Regions from separate parts of the Homo sapiens genome. Here region 2 is linked to region 1. The links are contacts of gene promoters, found by promoter capture Hi-C in blood cells and fetal thymus (Javierre and others, 2016). All regions are on one chromosome and are shown on one strand. Each heading gives the region's core, a stretch centred on a gene start or on the middle of the fragment in contact. The rest is flanking DNA. Distances are from core to core; before and after follow the strand shown. Region 1 holds the start of GABPA (GA binding protein transcription factor subunit alpha). Region 2 has its middle 130 kb from the start of ADAMTS1.

The links. Contacts are between HindIII fragments. The CHiCAGO score rates a contact against its expected background, and 5 or more counts as called.
Region 2: a fragment that was not itself captured here is called in contact with the fragment with the promoter of GABPA in region 1 in 1 of 17 cell types (fetal thymus); the score reaches 8.5 in fetal thymus.

What each region holds. Positions count from the first base shown.
Region 1 is chr21:25,732,288-25,736,760 of GRCh38, reverse strand. It overlaps GABPA (GA binding protein transcription factor subunit alpha), which reads right to left and starts at 1,789. Exons shown (of 10, transcript NM_002040.4): 1 at 1,183-1,789. ATP5PF (ATP synthase peripheral stalk subunit F6) reads left to right here and starts at 1,857. Exons shown (of 4, transcript NM_001003703.2): 1 at 1,857-1,908. RefSeq lists silencers at 796-1,005, 1,066-1,205, 2,146-2,245 and enhancers at 1,706-1,825, 1,846-1,955, 1,382-2,037, 2,356-2,435, 3,728-4,473. The HindIII fragment of the contact is 6,464 bases long and covers 271-4,473 here.
Region 2 is chr21:26,717,304-26,721,776 of GRCh38, reverse strand. No RefSeq gene overlaps it. Among named protein-coding and RNA genes, the nearest start is that of ADAMTS1, 130 kb to the left of the region's middle. The HindIII fragment of the contact is 3,282 bases long and covers 383-3,664 here.

The DNA of each region.
Region 1 (4,473 bases), core at 540-3,039:
TGAAGGGTATCTGCGTGTTCACTGCATGATTTTTTCCCCAATTCTTCTGTAGGTTTGGAGTTTTATATATAAAGAGTTGAGGGAAGGCTAAAGTCAACAGTTTTAATTTAGTACTCGGTCTGATGATTTGCTTCAACCTAACATCTAGCTCATGATTTAATTACTTCATTACTATACATGCCTCATGACAGATGCTCTTGTATACACAATTCAGGTAAAATTGACTTGAAGTCCACTCAGCGTCACTGTATGTCTAAAAATAAAGAAGCTTGGAAAGCCTGGATGGAACCCTGAGAGACAGGCTAGTCCCTCAAGCAGTTGCTAAAGAGTTGAGCGGTTTCTTCTGAAGTTCAAGATAACACTACCGAAGAATGTTATCACCGCCTCGTTCTACAATTCGCTCAAGTGAATCCTGCTAAATCTTTGCTCTTCTCACGAGTCAGACCTACTGCTATTAGTGGAAACTACTTATGAAATGAATTTTATTTCTAAATTTCTAATCATCTTGCAATGCAATATTAGGCATTGTCCTCTCGGTCCGCTAACCTGATCAAACTGGGGTCCCTAAATCCAAACACGCACATACAGCGTGTCTTCTAGTACACAAAAAAATTTCCAAGTAGACAACCCATTGTTATCTCCTTGGTTTACTTCCTTGCTTAAAAACAAAAAAACAAACCCAGATGGCTACCATATACGCTGATAAATGATTCTGGTGTGTGTTGTTCTATAAAGAGAGCGGATTTGAAATGAGTGAATCGCTGAGTCCCGCGATGAGACAGGGTCTGCATTTTGCTCTTAAAATCTCGGGGGCGTCAGGACCACATCCCAGCTGAGCAGGCTGAGACTGCTGAGGAGTGCGGACGGGCGAGGAGGGGACGCGGAAAGGAGGGAGCGGCGACAGGCGACCCGTCCGGCACGGGTCCCGGCGGTGCCCGGTCCCCCCGGGCTCCAGGCCGCTCGCCCCCCGCCCCTCCCCTTCGCTCCCCGCACAGCTCTCCCGCCCCTCCCCACCCGGCTCCCTCAAGTCTCCACGAACGGAAATGGGAGTCACAGCGCCGGGGACCAGCGGAAACAAAACACAGAGGCGGCCGCGGGGGGGCCCTTGTGGGGGAAAAGGCCCCGGAACGAGGCCGGCCCGCGAGGGCCCGCGCTCCCCTCCTCCCCGGCGGCCGCACTCACCCACTCCGGAATCGGCCCTGTCGCCCCCGCCCGCACTCCAGAGCCGGCTGAGAACGGCAGCGGCGAGGGCTCCACGTGCAGCGTCTCTCCGGGTAAGACCTGCAGCTCCCGCGACTAGAAGTGTGAGGTCCCAGGGCCCTTCCCGCGGAATCGGCGCTGAGAAGCCCCAACCCCCCTCCCGCCTCCCAGGCACCTTCGGGTCCAGGACTACAACTCCCGGCAGGGTGCGCAAAACGACCGCCCAAGGCAACGGAGGCTCACGAGGTACAAGGAAGCACAACGCCCCAATCCGCTTTGTTTTACACAGTCTCACTTTCCCTGCACCTTTATACACTTCGATAACCCTAACGAACAGGACGCTGACTCGGAGGGGAGCTTGAACTAGGGGAAAGGCCACTCAAAGAGCGCATGCGTACAGAGCAAGGTTTCAAGGAGGGGAAAAAGAACGGGTCAAATTAGGCGAAGAAAAGATGGCGGAGGCTGTGCCAGGGGACCCGGAAGCACTTACCCTCCACTTCCTCCTCCTGTTTGGCTTCTGTCTCACCTAGACCCGTCCGGTCGCAGACTGTCTCCGAGACGCTTCCTGTCCGGTGAGCGTCGACCGACTGAAACGGCGGCCCATAATGCATTGCGATGGCGGGTAGGCGTGTGGGGGCGGAGCCAGGGCCGGAAGTAGAGCGGAGGTGGTGGCGGCGGAGGCTTTGGCAGCTCGGGACTGAGTGCAAGGTGACTGGGAGGGTAGCTAGATCAGCGTGGCCTTTTGGGACTCCAGTTCTGGGTTTTTTCACGAGGCCTGGGCTGCCTCTCACCTTTACTAGGAGGAGAGAGCAGCTCTGTGTCCTGGGGACCTTCACGGCCTGGCCCGGGGTCACAGCTGACCTCTACGTTTGTAGACCTTGGAGTTTGCCGTAGACCCAGAAATAAGATCGATACCCTCTCTGAGGGCAAATCGGGGCGGCGCGGGGGGCAGGGAGGCCCGGGGGTCTCGGGCCCGCAGCCTGGCTGGGGCAACCCAAGGTCAGGCGCGCGGGAGAGATTTTCGGCCAGGCCTACCCGCCCCGGGCGCACGGGAGCGTCTAGGCTACTTAGGCAGAACGTGTACCATTAAGAGGGAAAAAATTAGTCATAATATTGAAAGTTTGCATCCCACCTAAAAACGATGGTGCTAACACTTCATTAGGCGACTTTATGGATTGTTCATAGGAATATGCACTGAAGAGGCAGCGAACCTACTAACCTTTGGCCGGTCAGTCATCACTATAAATAGAACCATGCTCCCACCCAGAACAAGGCCTCTGCTCAGACTAGTGTTTTCTTACTGTTGCCTTCCCCAGTCTTTCTGATCATGTCAGACGCTATCATATGCTCTCGTGGCACCCGATGGTACTGGAATAGAGAATTTATGTCAGGTGGTATTTCACAGCTATTTGTGTAATGACTATCTTCTGCGTTTTAGTGGACAATATGCATTCACTAATCAGTGAAAAAAAATGAAAGGGATTAAAGGAGAAGGAACAAGTTTTGATATGGGATTATGTGTTCGTTTTTTGGATGAGTTCGTAGGACTTATAAGGGAGATGAGAACTGTTGAATGCTGTGGATAGATTTGGGGCTCAGGATGAATACTAAAATTAGAAATGCGATTGGGGAATCATAGGCACTTACATGGTGGATAATTGAAACAATGAAAGTGGATTTTACCCGTGTTGCAGAAGGAGTAACATCTATGCAGTCAGACTTAGAGCAAATTAACTGTGAGAATACGTGCAGCTTAATCTTTCTTAGATACAGTTTTATCATCTGTAAAGCAGGGATAAGAACACTTTAACTCTTTGAGAGTATTGCTGTAAGGGTACAAGGAAAGGATATATATGGAAGTACTTTGCACAGTATCTAGGGCTAAGCAAATGTCGGGTGAACCTATTGCTGAATGTTAAGCATGTCCTTAGTTTGCCAGAAGGGAAAGTGGCATTGAATTGCACAATTTTTTTTTTTGCATATATGTGTTAAGTTAGATTTTGCTGTGTAACTTTGACCAGATACTTTTTTTTTGAGACAGAGTCTCGCTCTGTCGCCCAGGCTGGATTGCAGTGGCACGATCTCTGCTCACTCCAAGCTCCACTTTCCAGGTTTACGCCCTTCTGCCTCAGCCTCCGGAGTAGCTGGGACTACAGGTGCCCGCCACCACGCCTGGCTAATTTTTTGTATTTTTCAGTAGAGACCGGGTTTCACCGTGTTAGCCAGGATGGTCTCGATCTCCTGACCTCGTGATCTGCCCGCCTCGGCCTCCCAAAGTGCTGGGATTACAAGCGTGAGCCACCGCGCCCGACCACTTTGACCAGATACTTCTAATCCTCAGTTTCTGTGTGTTTAAACATAGGAATGATAATAAGTGGCACATGACCTTGTGAGGTCATTTGTTGTTTGCTTGTAGCCTTTTCTCAAGTATTTTTCCCTGATGGGGTATAAAAGTGATATGTTATGAATTCTTTAATTTCTTCAAACAGTTTGCTTTCATTCTGTCAGGTGAAGCATATTTTGTTGATTGCATTGATAGTAGGATTTCTTTTTTTTTTTTTTTTTTTTTTTTTTTGAGACAGAGTTTCACTCTTGTTGCCCAGGGTGGAGGAGTGCAGTGGCGCGATCTCGGCTCACCGCAACCTCCGCCTCCTGGGTTCAAGGAATCTCCTGCCTCAGCCTCCTGAGTAGCTGGGATTACAGGCATGTGCCACCACTCCCGGCTAATTTTGTATTTTTGGTAGAGACGGGGTTTCTCCATGTTGGTCAGGCTGATCTTGAATCCCTACCTCAGGTGATCCACCCACCTTGGCCTCCCAAAGTGCTGGGATTACAACAAAGTGCTGGGATTACAGGCGTGAGCCATCACGCCCGGCCTGATTGTAGGATTTCTTTCTTTCTTTTTTTTTTTTTTTGAGACAGGGTTTCACTCTGTAACACAGGCTGGAATGCAGTGGTGCAATCACAGCTCACTGCAGCTTCTACCTCCCAAGCTCAAGTGATCCTCCAGCCTCAGCCTCCCAAGTACCTGGGACTACAGGCACCCACCACCGCACTTGGCTATTTTTTTTTTTTCTGTAGAGATGGGGTCATACTGTGTTGCCCAGGCTGGTCTTGAATTCCTGGGCTTAAGTGATCCTCCTGCCTTGTTCTTCCAAAGTGCTGGGATTACAGGCATGATCCGCTGCACCTGGCTCATTGTAGATTTCTTTTGATAATTTTTACATGCCATTCCAGAGTTTGTCAACCTTGGCATTATTGACATTTTGACCA
Region 2 (4,473 bases), core at 774-3,273, 980 kb before region 1:
GGATACAGGGTCTAAGAGCTGAATATCTTTGCGGGGCATAAGTCATCCTACACACACACACACACACACACACACACACACACACACACACACAAGCAAACATTAACAAATAAATTTTCTTTATCTTTTGTGTTACAAATGTAACTATTAAAATTACAACAGAAACCAAATAACTTCCAAGTTTTCACGATTAAAAAATAAATGCCATGGGCACTTAATAGATTGCTTTAGCTTCTAATAACAATGAAACATTTATCTAAAATATCTATAATAAGGGCCTCAGAAGACTTCATGAATATTATCTTAATTTTATTCTTGCAACATCCAAACGGAAGTGCAGTTGTCAGGTATTTTTTGATAAATACGTTGCAAAGCATAAGCTTTTGAAATAAAGGAGGTGACTTATTAAAATGTTCTAAGAATATCTGATTTACAGATGACTTTTCTTTTTTTTTTTGAGATGGAGTCTGGCTCTGTTGCCCAGGCTGGAGTGCAGTGCCGTGATCTTGGCTCACTGCAACCTCTGCCTCCCAGATTTAAGCAATTCTCCTGCCTCAGCCTGCCGAGTAGCTGGGATTACAGCCACACACCACCATGCCTGGCTAATTTTTGTACTTTTAGTAGAGACAGGGTTTCACCATGTTGGTCAGGCTGGTCTCGAACTCCTGACCTCAGGTGATCCACCCACCTCAGCCTCCCAAAGTGCTGGAATTACAGGCGTGAAACACCATGCCTGGCCTACAGATAACTTTTGATGTGGAGAAAATGAATAGGTATCTGATACTCAGCTCATGGCTTAATTGCAAGTACCTAGATTAAGTAAGCAATTGTGATTGCCTCCTAACTTTAAAAAAAAGTTGCATAATATAAATCATATACGCTATCTTTGTGTTTAGCTTCTCATTACGAGTCATGTTTCTATGTCTTATTATTTCTTAAAGTCCCACTGAGATCCTAACAGACTGTAACAGAAATGCATGTTACATGTAGCTGAGCATTTAAATTCAATATCAGTTATACATTTGAAAGAAAATTAGCATCCATTAGTTCACATAAAAATGAGCGTCTTTCCACCAAAACTTTAGACATTTCTTAATGATTTGCCCTGTTATACTATAAATTCCTGCAATCAAGTGACCTTATCTCATTCCTCTTGGTGTCTTCCTACAATATTCCTGCCAATACTTACATTAGATCAATTCTGCCGATAACTTCAGAATCTAGAAAGGTCAACTTTATTTCTTTACATGCTTCTTCTAAATCTGCTCCTTTTCCTTTAGCATTTTCATGATGTCTCCTAACCAACTGTTAACCTGTAACTGAGATGGTCTTTCTTTTATTTTTACTTCTAATTCTTACCTACCCATTTGAAATGAACCTGTTAAAATGGTTGTCCCTGAAGTAGCATTTCCCTTTACATCCTACAAAGATCCACAGCTTCTACTAGAATTATCGGAGTGTTTGTGCATGTATGTATGTGTGTCTGTGCGTGCGTGTATGTGTGTATATGTGCAAATTATCTTTCCAGTTTGGAAGGCTGGTGGTTGCATGTAGGCATATATTTTCATAGGCTCTCATTTCCTGAGGCTTTACCATTTGCTTTAGAGATTAGGGAATGCCCATTCCAAAAATAGCCAAGTTCTTGGTGCATAAAGGATGTTTTTATCTGCCAGCCACCACTGCCCAGGCTGCAGTTCAGGCTTTCTCTTCTTCCTGTCCTCCCGCTCCTCATGTCTTTGCCAGTGTGCCAGAGCTCTGTGGGTGGCCCGCTGTCATCACTCTGCACCTGTCCCAATTAGCAGGCCTGAGACGCCGCCAAGGCAGCTTGCGTGCTGTGGACTAGTGCGTTGTGTGACCTCATGGCTGGCAAGGCAGCGGCTCTATGGTATGTGGTGTCTAGACGCCATTTGTTGGGCCTGCCCGGTGGGCAAAAGCTGTGTGTGGTATTGGAGGTTTCCCACAGCTGTGTTCACAGGCTGAAAAAGACTCACCAGAGGCTGGACAGCTGGGACCAGGTCATCCATCTCAGTGCCCTCAGAGTTCATCACGGGCCTGACACATGATAGGTGTTCATAGATCTTTGTTGAAATTACAGTGGTTTAGGGCAATATTGATTTTCAACTGTTGCCACAAAATCTGGGAGAGTGTTGAGATGAAGAACATGAATGCTGGAGGCAGAAGGACCCTGGGTTCAAATTCTGACTTTGCCACTTTCCAGCCATATGACATTAGGGAGGTGTGACAATGACCCCATGTCTCAGTTTCCTTATATTTTATGGGGACACTAGTAGCCCCATCTTATAGAGTTGTGATTATTAGAACAGCTTATTCTTGAATAGCTCTTAACACATAACCAGGCATGTGCCTAAGGCTCTAGAGATGCTACACTTTTCATAATCACCACATTTCATCTGCAGTCGCCCGCCAGCCTGCCCACTGTCATCATTTTCTCATTCTGATGTTCTACATATGTGACATACCTTAAACACTACCTTTTTTTTTTTTTTTTTTTTGAAACAGAGTCTCTCCCTGTCGCCCAGGCTGGAGTACAGCAGCGCGATCTCGGCTCACTGCAACCTATGCCTCCTGGGTTCAAGCGATTCTCCTGCCTCAGCCTCCTGAGTAGCTGGGATTACAGGCGCGTGCCACCACACCTGGCTAATTTTTTCTTTTTTTCTTTTTTTTTTTTTTTGTATTTTTAGTAGAGACGGGGTTTCACCATGTTGGTCAGGCTGGTCTCGAACTCCTGACCTTGTGATCTGCCCACCTCAGCCTCCCAAAGTGCTGGGATTACAGGCATGAGCCACCATGCCCGGCCTAAACACTGCTTTTAAAATATTACTAGTAAATGAATTCAGCAAAACTATTTCTTTCTCTTTCTGTGTTAAAGGTTTTAAACTGGCTGTTAGGAACATGTTCCCTGAGATGGGGCATTACCGTCTTCATCCTCTTTGCAAAGACAGGGGGAAGGGACTAGGAGGCCTGGGACTTCCTTCTGAATCTTCTACTTTCAAGGAAAGGACAACAAAATACACAAATGTTAATAGACCACACACCTTTCTCCTTAAATTCAGGAGGTCTAGTGTGACTCATTTTGCTGTCAGAAGCTATTTTACTGAAGGTAGAAAACAATAAAATGCAATGGTGATATAATTTGGATATTTGTTCCCTCTCAAATCTCATGTTGAATTGTAATCCCCAGTGTTGCAGGTGGGGCCTCGTGGGAGGTGTTTGGATCATGGATGTGGATTTCTCATGAATGGCTTAGCACCAGCCTCTTGGTGCTCTTGTCGAGATACTGAGTGAGTTCTTGTGAAATCTAGTTGTTTAAAGGTATGTGGCACCTCACCCCCGACTCTCTCTCTCTCCTGTTCTGGCCATGTGCCTGCTCCTGCTTTGCCTTCTGCCACGACTGTAAGTTTCCTGAGGCCTCCACAGAAGCCAAGCAGATGCCAGCACCATACTTCCTGTACTGCCTACAAAACCATGAGCCAATTAAACCTCTTTTATAAATTACCCAGTCTCAGGTATTTTTTATAGCAATGCAAGAATGGCCAATTGAAAACCAGAACAGATATTATTTCGGAAGCAATAAGTATTAGCTAAAATTTAATGTGCCCTAAAATGTACCTACGAAGTTCTGTGACAAAAAGAAAAATAAGCTTATGGAAGTAAAAACAGATATGAGGGTAGCATTTCTTTAGGATGAAAAGAAAGGAGAAAGCATCTGTAGGGCCCATCTCGATGAAAGAACTCTGGTTGGCTGAGATGGCTCCAGGTTCTGCAGAAAGCTGATGAGAATGGAATTTTCCATTTTCCAAAGCAAGTGATAGTGAGCTTTCCTTAGGTATTGATGGGATCCAGCCTCCTTCCTGCATACTGCAAGAGAAGTGGGAGTGGAGATTTGAGGCTTCTGAAAATAGAACTAAATTAGTTTCACCCTCAGAGCTGTAATTTCCTATCCCCTTACCCCACCTACACACACACACACACACATACACACACACACACACACACACACACACACACACAGGCGCGCACACAGGCACCTGTCCATTTCATTTCCTTCTGGACTATATGTGCAGGTATTAATTGTGTAGTATTAATTTATTGTGTAGAATGACTTAGGAAACGTTTCTACACAAAGGGTAAAACCTTCAGGGTACTAACTTGGGGTTCATTTTGGTCACGTTTTACCAGATGGCACCAATGTCAATTGCTGAGTCTCTGGTGTACCCCGAAATCTGGCTTCTGAAGCCACCAAATCATATCTTCTTGGTGAATCTATATACACATTATGGATAATTTCACCATCAGCAGCAGCAGTCTCTTTGTCTTCCAAGGACAAAAAGAGAAGACAACTTTCATATTAACATCATTAAATAAAAAGTTAAAAAGTAAATTTCCTTATTCAACCACAAGGTGGAGCATTTAACCCAGAATCAGCTGCCACTAAATCTGTTCATAATATTT